3 separate regions of the Homo sapiens genome follow, and regions 1 and 2 are each linked to region 3. Evidence: promoter capture Hi-C in human tissues and cell types (Jung and others, 2019). All regions are on one chromosome and are shown on one strand. The core of a region is centred on a gene start or on the middle of the fragment in contact, and the rest is flanking DNA. Distances in the headings are between cores, read along the strand shown. Region 1 overlaps RFPL2 (ret finger protein like 2). Region 2 overlaps SLC5A4-AS1 (SLC5A4 antisense RNA 1). Region 3 holds the start of SLC5A1 (solute carrier family 5 member 1).

Region 1 (4,179 bases), core at 630-3,129, 150 kb before region 3:
TGGAGATATATCACCAGTAAAAACCTAATTCCCTGTTATAATTAAATCAAAGCCTCATCAGGTTAGAGGGTGTGGAAGGGCGTGACCCAGTGGGAGGTGGGAATCTCACCAATAAAAGGCCCTCGTGTGCCCCTTCCCCACAAGACCTGAGCGCCCAGTGGAAGCAGCTGGAGGACAGAGGAGCTTCCAGCAGAAGAGGTGAGCCCATGCCTGTGTGTGTGTTTTTCCTCTTAGATGCCTAGAAATGGGGGTTATGACTTGGGGGGATGAATGAGAGAAATTCGTAATTAATGAATTCAACAAAGGCCGTCTGAGTGCTGCCTCAGAGTTGGAAACCAGTCACCCTGGATCCCCAGTCTAGGAGTGTAAGAGTGGTGGCAGTCAATTTGGTATTCACTTCCAAGGCTGGAGAAGGATGTAATTTTTTTTATTTTTTTATTTTTTTATTTTTTGGTGAGACGGGTCTTAACTCTGTTGTCCAGGTTGGAGTGACTTGGCGTGATCTCTGCTCTCTGCTAATTTTTGTATTATTTGTAGAGACAGGGTCTTCCTGTGTTGCCCAGACTGGTCTCAAACTCCTCGGTTCAAGGGATCTTCCTGCCTCGGCCTCGCAAAATGCTGGGATTACAGATGTGAGCTACTGCATCCAGCCCCTCTTTTTTTTTTTTTTTTTTTTTTTTGAGATGGTGTCTCACTCTGTTGCCCAGGCCAGAGTGCAATGGCAGGATCTCGGCTCACTGCAACCTCTGCCTCCCAGGTTCAAGTGATTCTCCTGCCTCAGCCTCCCAAGTATCTGGGATTACAGGCATGTGCCACCACGCCTGGCTAATTCTTTTGTATTTTCAGTAGAGATGGGGTTTCCCCATGTTGGTCAGGCTGGTCTCGAACTTTTGACGACCTCAGATGATCCACCCACCTTGGCCTCCCAAAGTGCTGGACAGGCATGAGCCATCGTGCCCGGCCTCCCAGCCCCTAATTCTTATGTTCATCAATCAGTCTCTTGCTGGGGTTCCCCTAGGAGGAGGTGAAATGACCCCAGCTCGCTGTTCCTCACATGGGTGCTGCCATGTCACTGGCTCAGGCTCAGCTGCTGGGTCACCAGGAGAATGGACGCTTCCTCCACCTCAGCTCAGAGCACAGTGATGATTCGTGACTTTCCCAATAGAACTTCAAATCTCTGAAGACGGGGGGTGGGGGGATGTGCTTGAGTGTTTGTACTCATGGTCTTATTCTCGGAGTGACAAAGCTGGAACACAATACCTCTATGCATGAAAAGGTTGTCACTTGTCACAACTAACAGGCTTTCACCTCATGGAAATTTTTTTACCTTGTGTACTTTTCCCCTGGCAGTGGACATGGCTGCACTCTTCCAAGAAGCAAGCAGCTGTCCCGTCTGCTCAGACTATCTGGAAAAACCAATGTCCCTGGAGTGTGGATGCGCCGTCTGCCTCAAGTGCATTAATTCACTGCAGAAGGAGCCCCATGGGGAGGATCTACTTTGCTGTTGCTCTTCCATGGTCTCTCGGAAGAACAAAATCAGGCGCAATCGGCAGCTAGAGAGGCTGGCTTCCCACATCAAGGAACTGGAGCCCAAGCTGAAGAAGATTCTGCAGATGAACCCAAGGATGCGGAAGTTCCAAGGTAAGGCATCTGTATACCCTGCCCCCTTCCCAAGACCAGACCAGGAAAAATCATTTGTGCAGTTGGCCCCTCATTCCACATGGGGATTAGCTGCTGTCTGGCACCTAAAATTGAGATGCTTCATCATCAGATTCTCAGCCCTGACAACATACAGAATCACCTGGTGATGTCAAAAACAAAAACAAACAAAAACCCGATGTCTATGTCATGGGTTAGACAAGGGATTCTCTAAACTTAGTGTGCTCAGATTACCTGGGGATCTTGTTAAAATGCAGATGCTGAACTGGGAAGTCTCAGGATTGATCCCACTGGCTTGGGGACTTTGCTGAGTAGCAAAAACATAGAGCAACTGAATTTGAATTTCTCTCTAGCAAAGGTTCCCAGGACTCTAACATTAAAATGGGCCTGGTAATTCTAATGCACGGTGAATATTGGCACCCATTGTACAAACAACCTTACCCCAGGGTTGGGAAGAGTTGGGAATGGAGCACCTATGGTGTTTGTTTCTGTGAGTGTGGGGAGAGTTTCAGACAGTGTTCTCCTCATCCATGCGCCATGGGCTTCAACAGTGGTCCTGGCTACAGAAAATACTATACATCTCTATAACTCTGGAGAAAAGGGACATTTACATGAAGAGATTATGGTCAGCCTGGGCACAGAATTACACCTATAAATGGTGGTGGGCCCCTATGATGTCCCCGACACTGGTAGCTTCTGCCCTGACACCCACGATCTCTACTCTTCCACCTACCCAAAACTGACTGTCTCTCTGCTGAAATATGGAGGACAGATTCACCCTGCCCAAGTCATGTTTGGAACCCTCTTCCTCCTTCCTTATCCATGTCCATTCATTTCATTCCCTAATTCACCATCAAACAGCAATCAATCTCTTCAAGTCTTACTGTAATCTATAAAATCTATATTGGTGATCATATCAGTTTTTTGACTTGAAGGATCATATGTTCTGTAGATTTTTTTTTTTCAGAATGTTCTGGACAATTAATTTTCTCTAGGCCAGATCACATTGCCTCCTTCCTCTGTCATCACACCGTCAGCTGCAGAGATATTCCATCTTCTGTCAGAACTGTACACGATTAATTTGTTTACAAACATGGAAAACAAAGGCCTGGACTCATGCTCTAGATACTATTTAAATTGAAGCAAAAAAATGTGGAAACAAACATCATTTAATATCGACCACTTGCATTGTCTTATCATTTATTTGTTCATGCATCAAGGTGGTAGAAAGGGGGGCATGGTGTCTGCCTTCAAAGACCCTCCACTCTAAACGAAGAAAAGGCCAATGAAGCAAACACATGACATAAAGTAAAATAAGAATTGCTACTGTGAATAAGGGTCAGGTATTGCCACAAAGCATACCTATGAGAATTTGAACTAGTCAGGGAAGTTACCTCATGAAGTTTGGATTTTGGGGGAAGAAGAGAATTAAAGAAACTAAAGTCAAGAGATATTTGGGCCTTTGAAGTAGAAGAGAGGCATAGGGTTGGTTTCTGTCCATTTGCTGAGCAACTTTTTTTCCTTTTCACAGTGGATATGACCTTGGATGCCAACACAGCCAACAACTTCCTCCTCATTTCTGACGACCTCAGGAGCGTCCGAAGTGGGCGCATCAGACAGAATCGGCAAGACCTTGCCGAGAGATTTGACGTGTCCGTTTGCATCCTGGGCTCCCCTCGCTTTACCTGTGGCCGCCACTGCTGGGAGGTGGACGTGGGAACAAGCACAGAATGGGACCTGGGAGTCTGCAGAGAATCTGTTCACCGCAAAGGGAGGATCCAGCTGACCACAGAGCTTGGATTCTGGACTGTGAGTTTGAGGGATGGAGGCCGCCTCTCTGCCACCACGGTGCCGCTGACTTTCCTCTTCGTAGACCGCAAGTTACAGCGAGTGGGGATTTTTCTGGATATGGGCATGCAGAACGTTTCCTTTTTTGATGCTGAAAGTGGTTCCCATGTCTATACATTCAGGAGCGTATCTGCTGAGGAGCCATTGCGCCCATTTTTGGCTCCTTCAGTTCCACCTAATGGTGATCAAGGTGTCTTGAGCATCTGTCCTTTGATGAACTCAGGCACTACTGATGCTCCAGTCCGTCCTGGGGAGGCCAAATAAGCCCTCACTCCAAAAAAACAAAAAACAGGGTAAGAAAATTACTTGGGTGGGTAGACTTAGGAACGCTCTACTTCGTAAAAGCATTATACAAAGTCACGGGAGAAAAATATGGGACATTTCTTGATTGTACTTAATCTAATTTGATTAGATTATAGAGTCCTAAGTATTAATTATTGCCACCATCAAACTCATTGAGTCCTATGGTTCACATCTTGTTTCCTATAGAAATGTCCTGTATTCTGGGATCAATTTCCAAATGCTTTACTTTTTTATTTCTGCAAGTTCAAATTAATGTATTATAGAAGTTATGAGTTAAATAAAGATTGGAATATCACCTAATGGATTATGTGACTTTCTTTCCTCAGCCTCCTGAGTAGCTGGGATTACAGGCACCCACCACCAACCTCA
Region 2 (4,218 bases), core at 50-2,549, 170 kb before region 3:
TACTTGATATCCTTTACCAATTCTCTAATTCATTTACAGATATTCTTTACATATTCTATATATTTATTATTTGCATATGAATAGCAAGTATTTTGTCTTAAAGTCTATGTCTTGCCTTGTAACTTTATGTTGTCTTTTATTGTACAGAAGCTTTAATTTATATTTAGTCAAATTGTTTCTTTTTCTCTTATGACTTCTGGGTTTTGTGACTTACTTTCAATTGTCTTTTCAGGGTTTTGTTGTCTGTTTTGTTTGAAATGACATACTGAAATCCTACATTATATTGCAATTTACTTTTTTCTCTTTATACTGCATTGTGGACATTACTAAGCCTAACTAATGTAGATCAAATGTATTTATTTTAATTTCTGCCTAATTTATAATATTGAATGTATTTTATTTCCTTAGCAATTCCCGCTTTTTCTTTTCTTTCTTTCTTTCTTTTTTTTTTTTAAGACAAGTTCTTGCTCTGTCACCCAAGCTGAAATGCAGTGGCACTATCATGGTTTGCTGCAGCCTGCAATTCCTGGGCCCAGTGATTCAGTAAGGCCAGAAATTAAAAGAACAACTTCTGGGCCAAAGAAATCCTCCTGCCTCTGCCTTCCAAGTATCTGGGACTACAGGCACATGCCACCACACCCTATTTTTTTCAGAGATGGGATCTTGCCATGTTGCCCAGGCTGGTCTTGAACTCCTGACTTCAAGTTACTCACCTCAGCCTCCCAAAGCGCTGGGATTACAGGCATGAGCCACTGCATCCAGCCAACAATTCCCCTTCAGATGGACATTCAAGTTAAGTACTCTTTGCCACCACAAATAGTGTTGTAGCAATCATCTTTTACACTGGATGGTTTCATTTCTACAGGACAGAATCTTTGTAGTGGTATAACTTAGCCATAGCTATGTTTACTTACACTTTTAATAGATACTGATTAGTTACTTTCCAAAAAGTTGAAGCAATTCACATTCCCATCAACAGGGAACAAGCAGGAGGACCGTTTCCCCTGCAGGCTCAGTAGCAACAAAAGTTGTTGCTTTTTCAAAAAATATATATATCTTGCTAATTCCCTTGGTGAAAAATCTCACAGGAGTGCTAACTAATCAGTTATTTTAACTTCAATTAGTTGCCTATTTATAACCTTTTCCTATTTTTCTATCAAGTGGTTTAAGGTGAGGAACATTCTTAAAACAGGAAACCTAAAAATAATAAACACATTTTGTATATCAAAAGGCAGTGCAAATGAAATTGAAAATGTGGAGTCCAAAAGATATTACAAAACAGGAAAAAAAGAGCTCCCATAAATAAATGAGAAAGAGACAAGTAAGCCTAACTGTTGAACTGCATTTGGATAGGAAGAAACAGACTTGGGCTTCCCTGCTATATATATAGATATATATGTATACATATATAGATATATATATCCATATATATGTATAGATATATATGTATACATATATAGATATATATCCATATATATGTATAGATATATATGTATACATATATAGATATATACATATATGTATAGATATATATGTATACATATATAGATATATACATATATGTATAGATATATATGTATACATATATGTATACATATATAGATATATATGTATACATATATGTATATATATACACACATACATATATAGTGTGTATATATATAGTGTGTGTATATATAGTGTGTATATATAGTGTGTGTATATATATATATAGTGTGTGTGTGTGTGTGTGTGTGTGTGTATATATATAATATAACCTCCTTGGAATAGACAATGTCTTCATACAGAGGACACAAAAATTACCAATCATAGGAGAAAAAAGCAATATATTGAACTACATCAAAATTGAAAACTTCTAGCCAACAAAAGTCACCTTAAAGGAAATGACCAAACAACCCACAAAATAACTGAAAATACTTAGAGTACGCACACGTCTGACAAAGGAGTTGTATCCGGAATAAAAAGACCAACAGGCCAACTTTAAAACTCAAAAAAAAAAATGACACTTGGAGAAGAGCTTCAAGGTGACTGACTAGAGGTGCCCAACATTCGTCTCCTCCACAAAGAAGGAGCAAAACAGATAATCACATGTCAAATAGAGCATCTAACAGAGAATGCTGGAATTCAGCGGGGAAGTGACAGAACCATCCGAGATATGGAAGGAGAGAAAAGCAAGACCAGATGAGCTCCCCAGTGCAGGGGAAAAGGTAAGTGAGAGATTCCCAGGGGTCCACATTCCCACCACAGATTCCTGCAACCCTGGCCATGGGAGAGCCCCTCAGCTCTTGTGGGCCCTGAGACAGCATAGGATGCTGCCTGTACTTGTCCACGCAATGGCATTGTTCCAGAGGGAGTCGTGCTGGGTACCACACACACACTTTAGATCCAAGAAGCTCCAGCACGTGCCATTTTGAGAGCCCAGACCCCATGAGGATTGCCTCTTGCCCTGGGGCCCAACAGCCCTGCATCTCCACATCCCTAGAGCCCCCCTGACATCTCCCCTTATCCACTTAGAGGGCTACAGCAGCATGATGCCGGCTAGACCAGCGGTTTGACCGCGTCTCCAGCACTCTAGCCCACACAAGAGTCCTACACCCCAGGGAATGGGCAATGCAGTGCACCAAGGAGGCCAGCTCCATGACAAAGGAAACCCAAGTGCATGAGCCTGAGAGCCATCTGCCTGTGGCTGCTGCCACTGACAGCAACCCCACATCCCACCCCCAGCAGCAGGGCTGACACAAAATTGCACGTACCTTCATTGTGTCTGGGAACCAGCCCACCCAGATACTGTCCCAGGGCTTGAGGGAAGACTTGCCCCACTCGCCGCCGCTGCACTTCCAGGCAAGCACCTGGGAGCCTGAGGATTGTTCTGTCCCACCTGCTGCCATGGGCACAGGCAAGAACCATCAGGAGGCCCGCCAGCAGACCCAGCGCCACATTGTGACACAGGCTCATACAAAAACCCCTCCCTGGGATGCCCCTACCCCCAGCCCCCACTGCAGCTGTGAGGAAGGAAGCTCTGGCCACTCCCCCTGGTGGCATCTGCTCATTGAGTCCACACACCCCTCACCCTCACCCCCACAGATAAGGGGACAAGTGACATCCTGTGACCAGCAGCAGGATCCCTGGAGGACATCGGCGTCTTGGGTTTGGTTTTCCCACCAACCATCATGTAGTCATGGGGATGAGTTTATCAGAGGGCATTTATGCCACTAGGAGGAATTTTCATGGACAGGGATACCTGGTCTCCCTGGGGGAGTTGACTCAACACTGATTGCTTGGTGATACCATGGGGTGATGCAGACAGTACCCTCTCCCTCCAGGGAGAAGCTGGTTACCCTAGAGTGCAGTGTCCTGGGAACCTTCCCATTAACCTAGCCCTGACTCCAGGAGTTTCAGCCCCATCTTCCCAGGTCTTGACCCAGTTGGGATGGCCCTGGCCAGTGAGGCCCGGCTGGTCCCCCTCAACAAAATGGAAGCTCCATCCTTGATCCCTGGACCCCTCAATCTGGTTTTACATTGGGTAGGTCAGGTGGGGTGATGGCTACCATTTCCTTATTCAAATGGGGGACATGAGAGAGTCTCCAGGGTGTGGTCCTTAAATACCTCCTCCTCCTAAGGGAAGTGGGATCAGTGGGGGATCCCAGGCCTGGGGCAGGAAAGGGACATGACAAGACAGGACCTCTCATCCTCTGCGAAATCAGGAGCCACTGAAGCTTCCGGAGCAATGAAAGAAAATGAGGTGCCCCCTGAGGAGGTGCTCAGTGGGCAAATGTTTATGTTTTGTAGCCACATCATGATCACCAATTCAATATAACCGCAGTGGATCCCACATGTCAGATGTCCTCACATGCTGGAGCTCACTCTGGCTCTATGTTGTTCTGTTCACCCTCGAGTATGGCCGAGCACCAGATCGTCCATTATCAAAGTGGTGAATAAAAGGGAAGAAACTACTTTTCTTCCTTTTTTCCAAAGCAGGAAGCACACTCCTAGGTTCATAGCACAGCTGCTGGGCCCTCCCTTCAGCGACACACTGCAGCTCTCACGAGGAGGTGAATGGAAGCCTCAACCCTCTGTCTTCCTTTTTATCTGAAGCACAAAGTTATCGATCATCAAACACAGCTAATGTCACTAAAAGAATGATGAACATGGGTGGCTTTGCTAGAAGTAACCACATGTCCTAGGAAGCAGTTATGCCAATGTCCAGCCTGAACCCCA
Region 3 (4,690 bases), core at 949-3,448:
GATAAACTGGAAGAAATCCAATGCATTAAATGACCAGGGTCCAGAGGCATTGTCTAATGGGGGAAGATTAAACATAGACAAATACTAAACAGGCTATTAAGTAGCATTTAGCAGGACAAGTGATACTGATTCACAGATACTTGAAACATGTAAACACCATTTAAAAAGTATAAACACCTACTAGACTGGCAGGGCTAAAATGAGATTGGTTAAGAGAACCGATATTATCAGAGATTGTCTGGGAAACAGGCAGTACTGTATAGCCAGCAGATGACGGGCTCACACCTTGGCTCCAGCACTTATAAGCTGGGGTGGGGTGGAAGGAGGAAGTCAGTCACAGTGGCAGAGTGCCTGGTACCATAAAAAATCAGGAGTCAAGAGATCTGAGTTCCAGGAACAATTTCATCTATTGTAACCTTAGACAAATCACAACCACATGAGGCTTCAATTTCCTCTTCTGTAAAACGGGGATTAGCATTCTGGCCTTCCCTGTCTTGTGGCTTTTGTAAAAATATACTACCCACCTGACCACTGCTGCCCATTTTACTTAAAAGGATAAACATTGTTCAGAGCCCAGATCATACCATGGAAGGTAAATGACAATAGTAGTTTTTTTTAATCCTAGAGTCCATAAACAGCTTTCAGATTCACCTCTGCGTATCCTCACCACAACCATGGGGGAGTCATTAGAATAGATAAGAGTGTACCTATGTTAAAGTTGAGTAAACTGGAGGCTGAGGGAAGTTACCCAATGTTCCATGATTTGAACCATGTGAAAGCCAGTAGTGAACTTGAGTATCCTGGCTCCTAGTTGGTCAGTTTCCACTATGTCTGGGAAGCTGAGAGTATTGAGGAAAAGTCAGCCATACTGACCCCATGTGACACTTGGGAGGCATTCTGCCACATCTAGTTTCTACAATTCCTTTGGAAAAAAAAAAAAAAACACTTCCTTTTGTCCCTGAAAAAGCTCTGTGTCCACAGAAGTGTTCATGCCTACCTTCCTCTCCTCTAAGTCAAAAGAGTTCAACACAATCACCAGCTGCTACAGCAGCCTCCCTGGGCTTATCACCTCCACCTCCATAACAATCACGAGAATGGCTGGAACATCTGCAAACATTTTATATATTTTTTGTAATTTTTTTTATTTTTGTAGAGACAGAGTCTCACTATGTTGCCCAGGCTGATCTCGAACTCCTGGACTCAAGCAATCCTCCCACCTTGGCCTCTCAAAGTGCTAGGATTACAGGAGTGAACCACCACAGTCGGTCCTGCACACTTTTAAAACATCTCCTCCTCTAGTTGTTGGGCCTGCCACAGTCTGTCATAAGTGAAATGCCCATGTTCCAGGTGGCTGAGAACAAGTTTCTCTGGTTTGCTGTGTCCCCAGAGTCCCAAAAGGAGACACACACATTTCCCTCTCCCCAGTGCCAGGTCACCCCCAGGTCTTCCTCCTCCTCCTTTTCCACCCATCTTTCTCATCTCTAACTTGATCCAGCCCCTGGGATCCTCATGCACAAGGCCTCTGGGTTAGCCTCTCCCAGGAGTGGGGCATGGGTCAGCATCCCTCTGTCTGCCACCTCAGCATCCCCATCTCTGGGGCTGGCAGAGGCTGTGGCTTTCCCACTCCACACCATTTCTTTCCCATCTGAAACTGGATGACTAAAAGGTAGGACAGTAGTCACCTGCTAGAGGCTCATCTCCCAAGCCCCAGAGCCCTCCCTGTAGCTCTAAGCAGCCGCTTTCCTGCCCCTTACACTTTCCAGCGGTCTCTTCAAACCCCCACCTTCCTTCTCTGCTCACAGGCTCAGGTATCCTCCTTGGTCCTTCCTGGCAGGCTGCCCTGGGCACCCTTCTCACTTCTGCTCATCCTTGCTTGCCCTCCTCCCTTCATGCTGTGCCTCTGAGTGCTTCTAAAGTGCTTCCAAGTCATTTCCTCTCCCCTCCACCGACACTTAAGCCTACTGCCCCTTGCAGCTCAGCGAGGCCATTGCTCCTCCTCTGTGCGCACCCTCCCCACCCGCATCCCAGAACCCGCTGCATACCCACAGTCCGACGGCCATCACTACCACGAAGTAGATAACGATGATGGAGATATCGGCTGCATTGCGAATGAGCTCGTGGGTCTCAACAGGCCGGGTGACCGCGGTGGTCTTGGGGCTCCAGGTGCTACTGTCCATGGTGGCAGCGTTGCGTCCTTCCCTCTCGCCAGGGCCGCTAGCTCCTTATACGGCCTCCTGGTTAATGATCAGCACCAGGGGAGGGGACCTGGGACTTTGAGGGAGCAGGGCAGTAGCGCGGGGCCCCTGCGATGCCTTGCGGCTGCACCGTCAGGAAGCAGCTCCGGGCGTGGAGCCCAGGAAGGAGCACCCGGCTGAGCTGTTGGCTGGGGCGGCGGCCCGGCAGGTAAGAGCTGTCCTGCGAATGGGGAGGGGCCAGCCAGGGGGTGGTGCCCGCCTGGCACAAAGGCCCACTGTACTCCCACAGCAGGCACCAGCAGCGCCACCACACCTGCCCTTGCCAGAGCTGGAGTGGCTCCATTGAGGGAACAGGCCACCTGGGGCTAGGAGCCTAGAGGCTTCAGATCACCTGCCACCCATCCTTGGACTAGTCCCATGCCTTCTAAGGACTTGGCTTGTCCGCTTGTAAAATGGGTGCAGCACTCTTCTGAAGAATCAGTCAAGTCTTGTTCTCCCTGGAGAACATTCTTGAGAGGACAGAGAGTTGCTGGGTGTCACTGGAAAAAAACCAGCACAATCCTAATCTCTTGGCCACAAGGACAGCCACCCACCCACCCACATTCCTGACTCCCCCTCCACAGCCTGCAGCCCCCAGGTCCACTGTTACCCCCACTGTAAAGAGGAAGAAACTGAGACTGGGGGAAGGGATCTCACCGGGAGCTATTTCCTTGCCCTGTCCCTCTCCCAGTATTGATGCAGGGCCCTCCAGAGGCAGCAGAAGGGAAGATACTAGAGAACCCTTTCCAAGGAGTTCATCAAACCCTGACCTTCCTGGGGACTCAGCTCACCCATCTGGAAACACATGTCTAAACAGCAAGCCAGGGCTCAGAACAGAGATGACCAAGAGAGGAGGCATGACTTGCCCAAGGTCATACAGGAAACCAGCAGCAGAGCTGGCCCTGCAGCCCATGCCAGGGTTCAGAGGGAGGGCTGTGGGGTATTCTCAGGGGCTGGCTCTAGAGGCCACAGAGCAGCCAAAAGTGACTGTTCCCAAAGAGGGGGGCCTTGCTCTGATGGGGAGGTGCAGGGAGGCAGAGGACCACAGAAACCCTGCCAGGACTCTGGTCTGCCTCAGGCCCTCCCTGCCCACTGCTAGACAACCACCCACTGCCTAAATGTGAGCATCCTGTTCCTTTGCACTCAATGCTTCAGAGGTCTGCCTCCCCTCCTTCCGTATCAGCAACTGTTCTTCCCACTGAAGCTGCAGACAAAGAATCATTATTTGGACAGCATCCCCACAGGTCTTCCCCATTTCCCCCACACATCCCCCAGGACTGCAAACTATATAAGGCTATGTCCTGGGGCCAGTATAATGCCTGCCCAAAGGAAGCAGGAATTCTTACGAGGAACCTGAAAGCAGGGGCTGTCTGCTGTGGATGCCTCCCAAGACTTAGAGCTCAGCTGTCAGCTGCAGCTTGGAGCAACTCGCCTTTTGCCTGTGTTCATTCATTCCTGCATTCAGCCAAGTTTTTTCACCTGAATGTATCCCAGGAAGAGTCCCTGCCCTTAGGAAGCTTCTGTTCTAGTCTGGAAGTGAACCCACCCACAGGAAAAGTCCAGCCCTGAACCCAGGTGCAGGTGCAGGCAGCCAGGCCATGCCAAGTTCCAAAAGTACAAGGCATAGAAAGTGAAGCGAGCAGGAGAGAGAACTGGAAGTACTAAAGGACTTCAAAGGAGGGACAGAGCCATTCTTTGATCTTTTAGGAGAGCCAAACATAAATGGGAAAAGAAAGGAAAGGATGGTGCCCAGGTAGAGGTCAGAAAATGCATCCATTCATTCATTCATTTATTCTTACAACAAAAGAGCAGCTTCTATGTGCCAGATCATATGTACCGACCCTGGAATACAGCTATGAAAAGACACAGAGCTCTTGCCCTCACAGAGCTTCCTGACCAATGACAGAGATAGATCAGCATCAAAGATGAGACAACTACCTGTGAAATTACCATTGTGACACATGCTTTGAAGGAGAAATACTAATACCCCAAATGCCTACCAAGGAATTCAACCTGGGGATAAGGTGAGGTTAGAGTAAGTTCTGTGAAAGCTCTGGTTTGAGCAGGGACCTGAAAGAAAAGGAGGAATAGGCCAAGTAAGCTGGGAGTGAGGGACATTCCAGGAGATGACAAGCATGAGGAGTAAGGAAGGGGTTACAATATTTAGGGAGGGACTAGCTGGGGCTACAAATAAACATATATAAAAAGCATGTCACCTGTAAGAAACTCCCTACCACAGTCATTCCCCAGGCTGCCTGAGGCCCTTTTGCCATCTCTCTTCCTCATTGGTCTCTTCTAAAGGGACACTTCAAACCCAATTTCCCCTGAATGGATGCTTCTAGGAGAACACAGTGTGATGCCCACCTGCTCCCATGCAGCTGGCCTGAGCTGCTGGGTCACTGCTCACTGGTAGGATCCTGTTGGACTCTCTCTTGCCGTCATTGGTGCCAATCAAA

Evidence for each region. The method cuts DNA at HindIII sites, captures the fragments that hold promoters and counts their contacts. A contact is called where the count stands out against the background at its distance.
Region 1: a contact is called between a fragment that was not itself captured here and the fragment with the promoter of SLC5A1 in region 3, in 3 of the 25 tissues and cell types used here (adrenal gland, lymphoblastoid cells and mesenchymal stem cells).
Region 2: a contact is called between a fragment that was not itself captured here and the fragment with the promoter of SLC5A1 in region 3, in 2 of the 25 tissues and cell types used here (heart left ventricle and lymphoblastoid cells).

Annotation. Positions count from the first base shown.
Region 1 is chr22:32,190,364-32,194,542 of GRCh38, reverse strand. It overlaps RFPL2 (ret finger protein like 2), which reads left to right. Exons shown (of 5, transcript NM_001394555.1): 3 at 53-198; 4 at 1,351-1,641; 5 at 3,191-4,105. The coding sequence ends at 3,771. Among named protein-coding and RNA genes, the nearest start is that of RFPL2, 13 kb to the left of the region's middle. The HindIII fragment of the contact is 8,298 bases long and covers 1-4,179 here.
Region 2 is chr22:32,210,996-32,215,213 of GRCh38, reverse strand. The region is part of intron 2 of SLC5A4-AS1 (SLC5A4 antisense RNA 1); the gene reads right to left. Among named protein-coding and RNA genes, the nearest start is that of SLC5A4-AS1, 8.0 kb to the right of the region's middle. RefSeq lists an enhancer at 2,611-3,112. The HindIII fragment of the contact is 5,924 bases long and covers 1-4,218 here.
Region 3 is chr22:32,040,769-32,045,458 of GRCh38, reverse strand. It overlaps SLC5A1 (solute carrier family 5 member 1), which reads right to left and starts at 2,198. Exons shown (of 15, transcript NM_000343.4): 1 at 2,043-2,198. The coding sequence starts at 2,177. The HindIII fragment of the contact is 11,764 bases long and covers 1-4,690 here.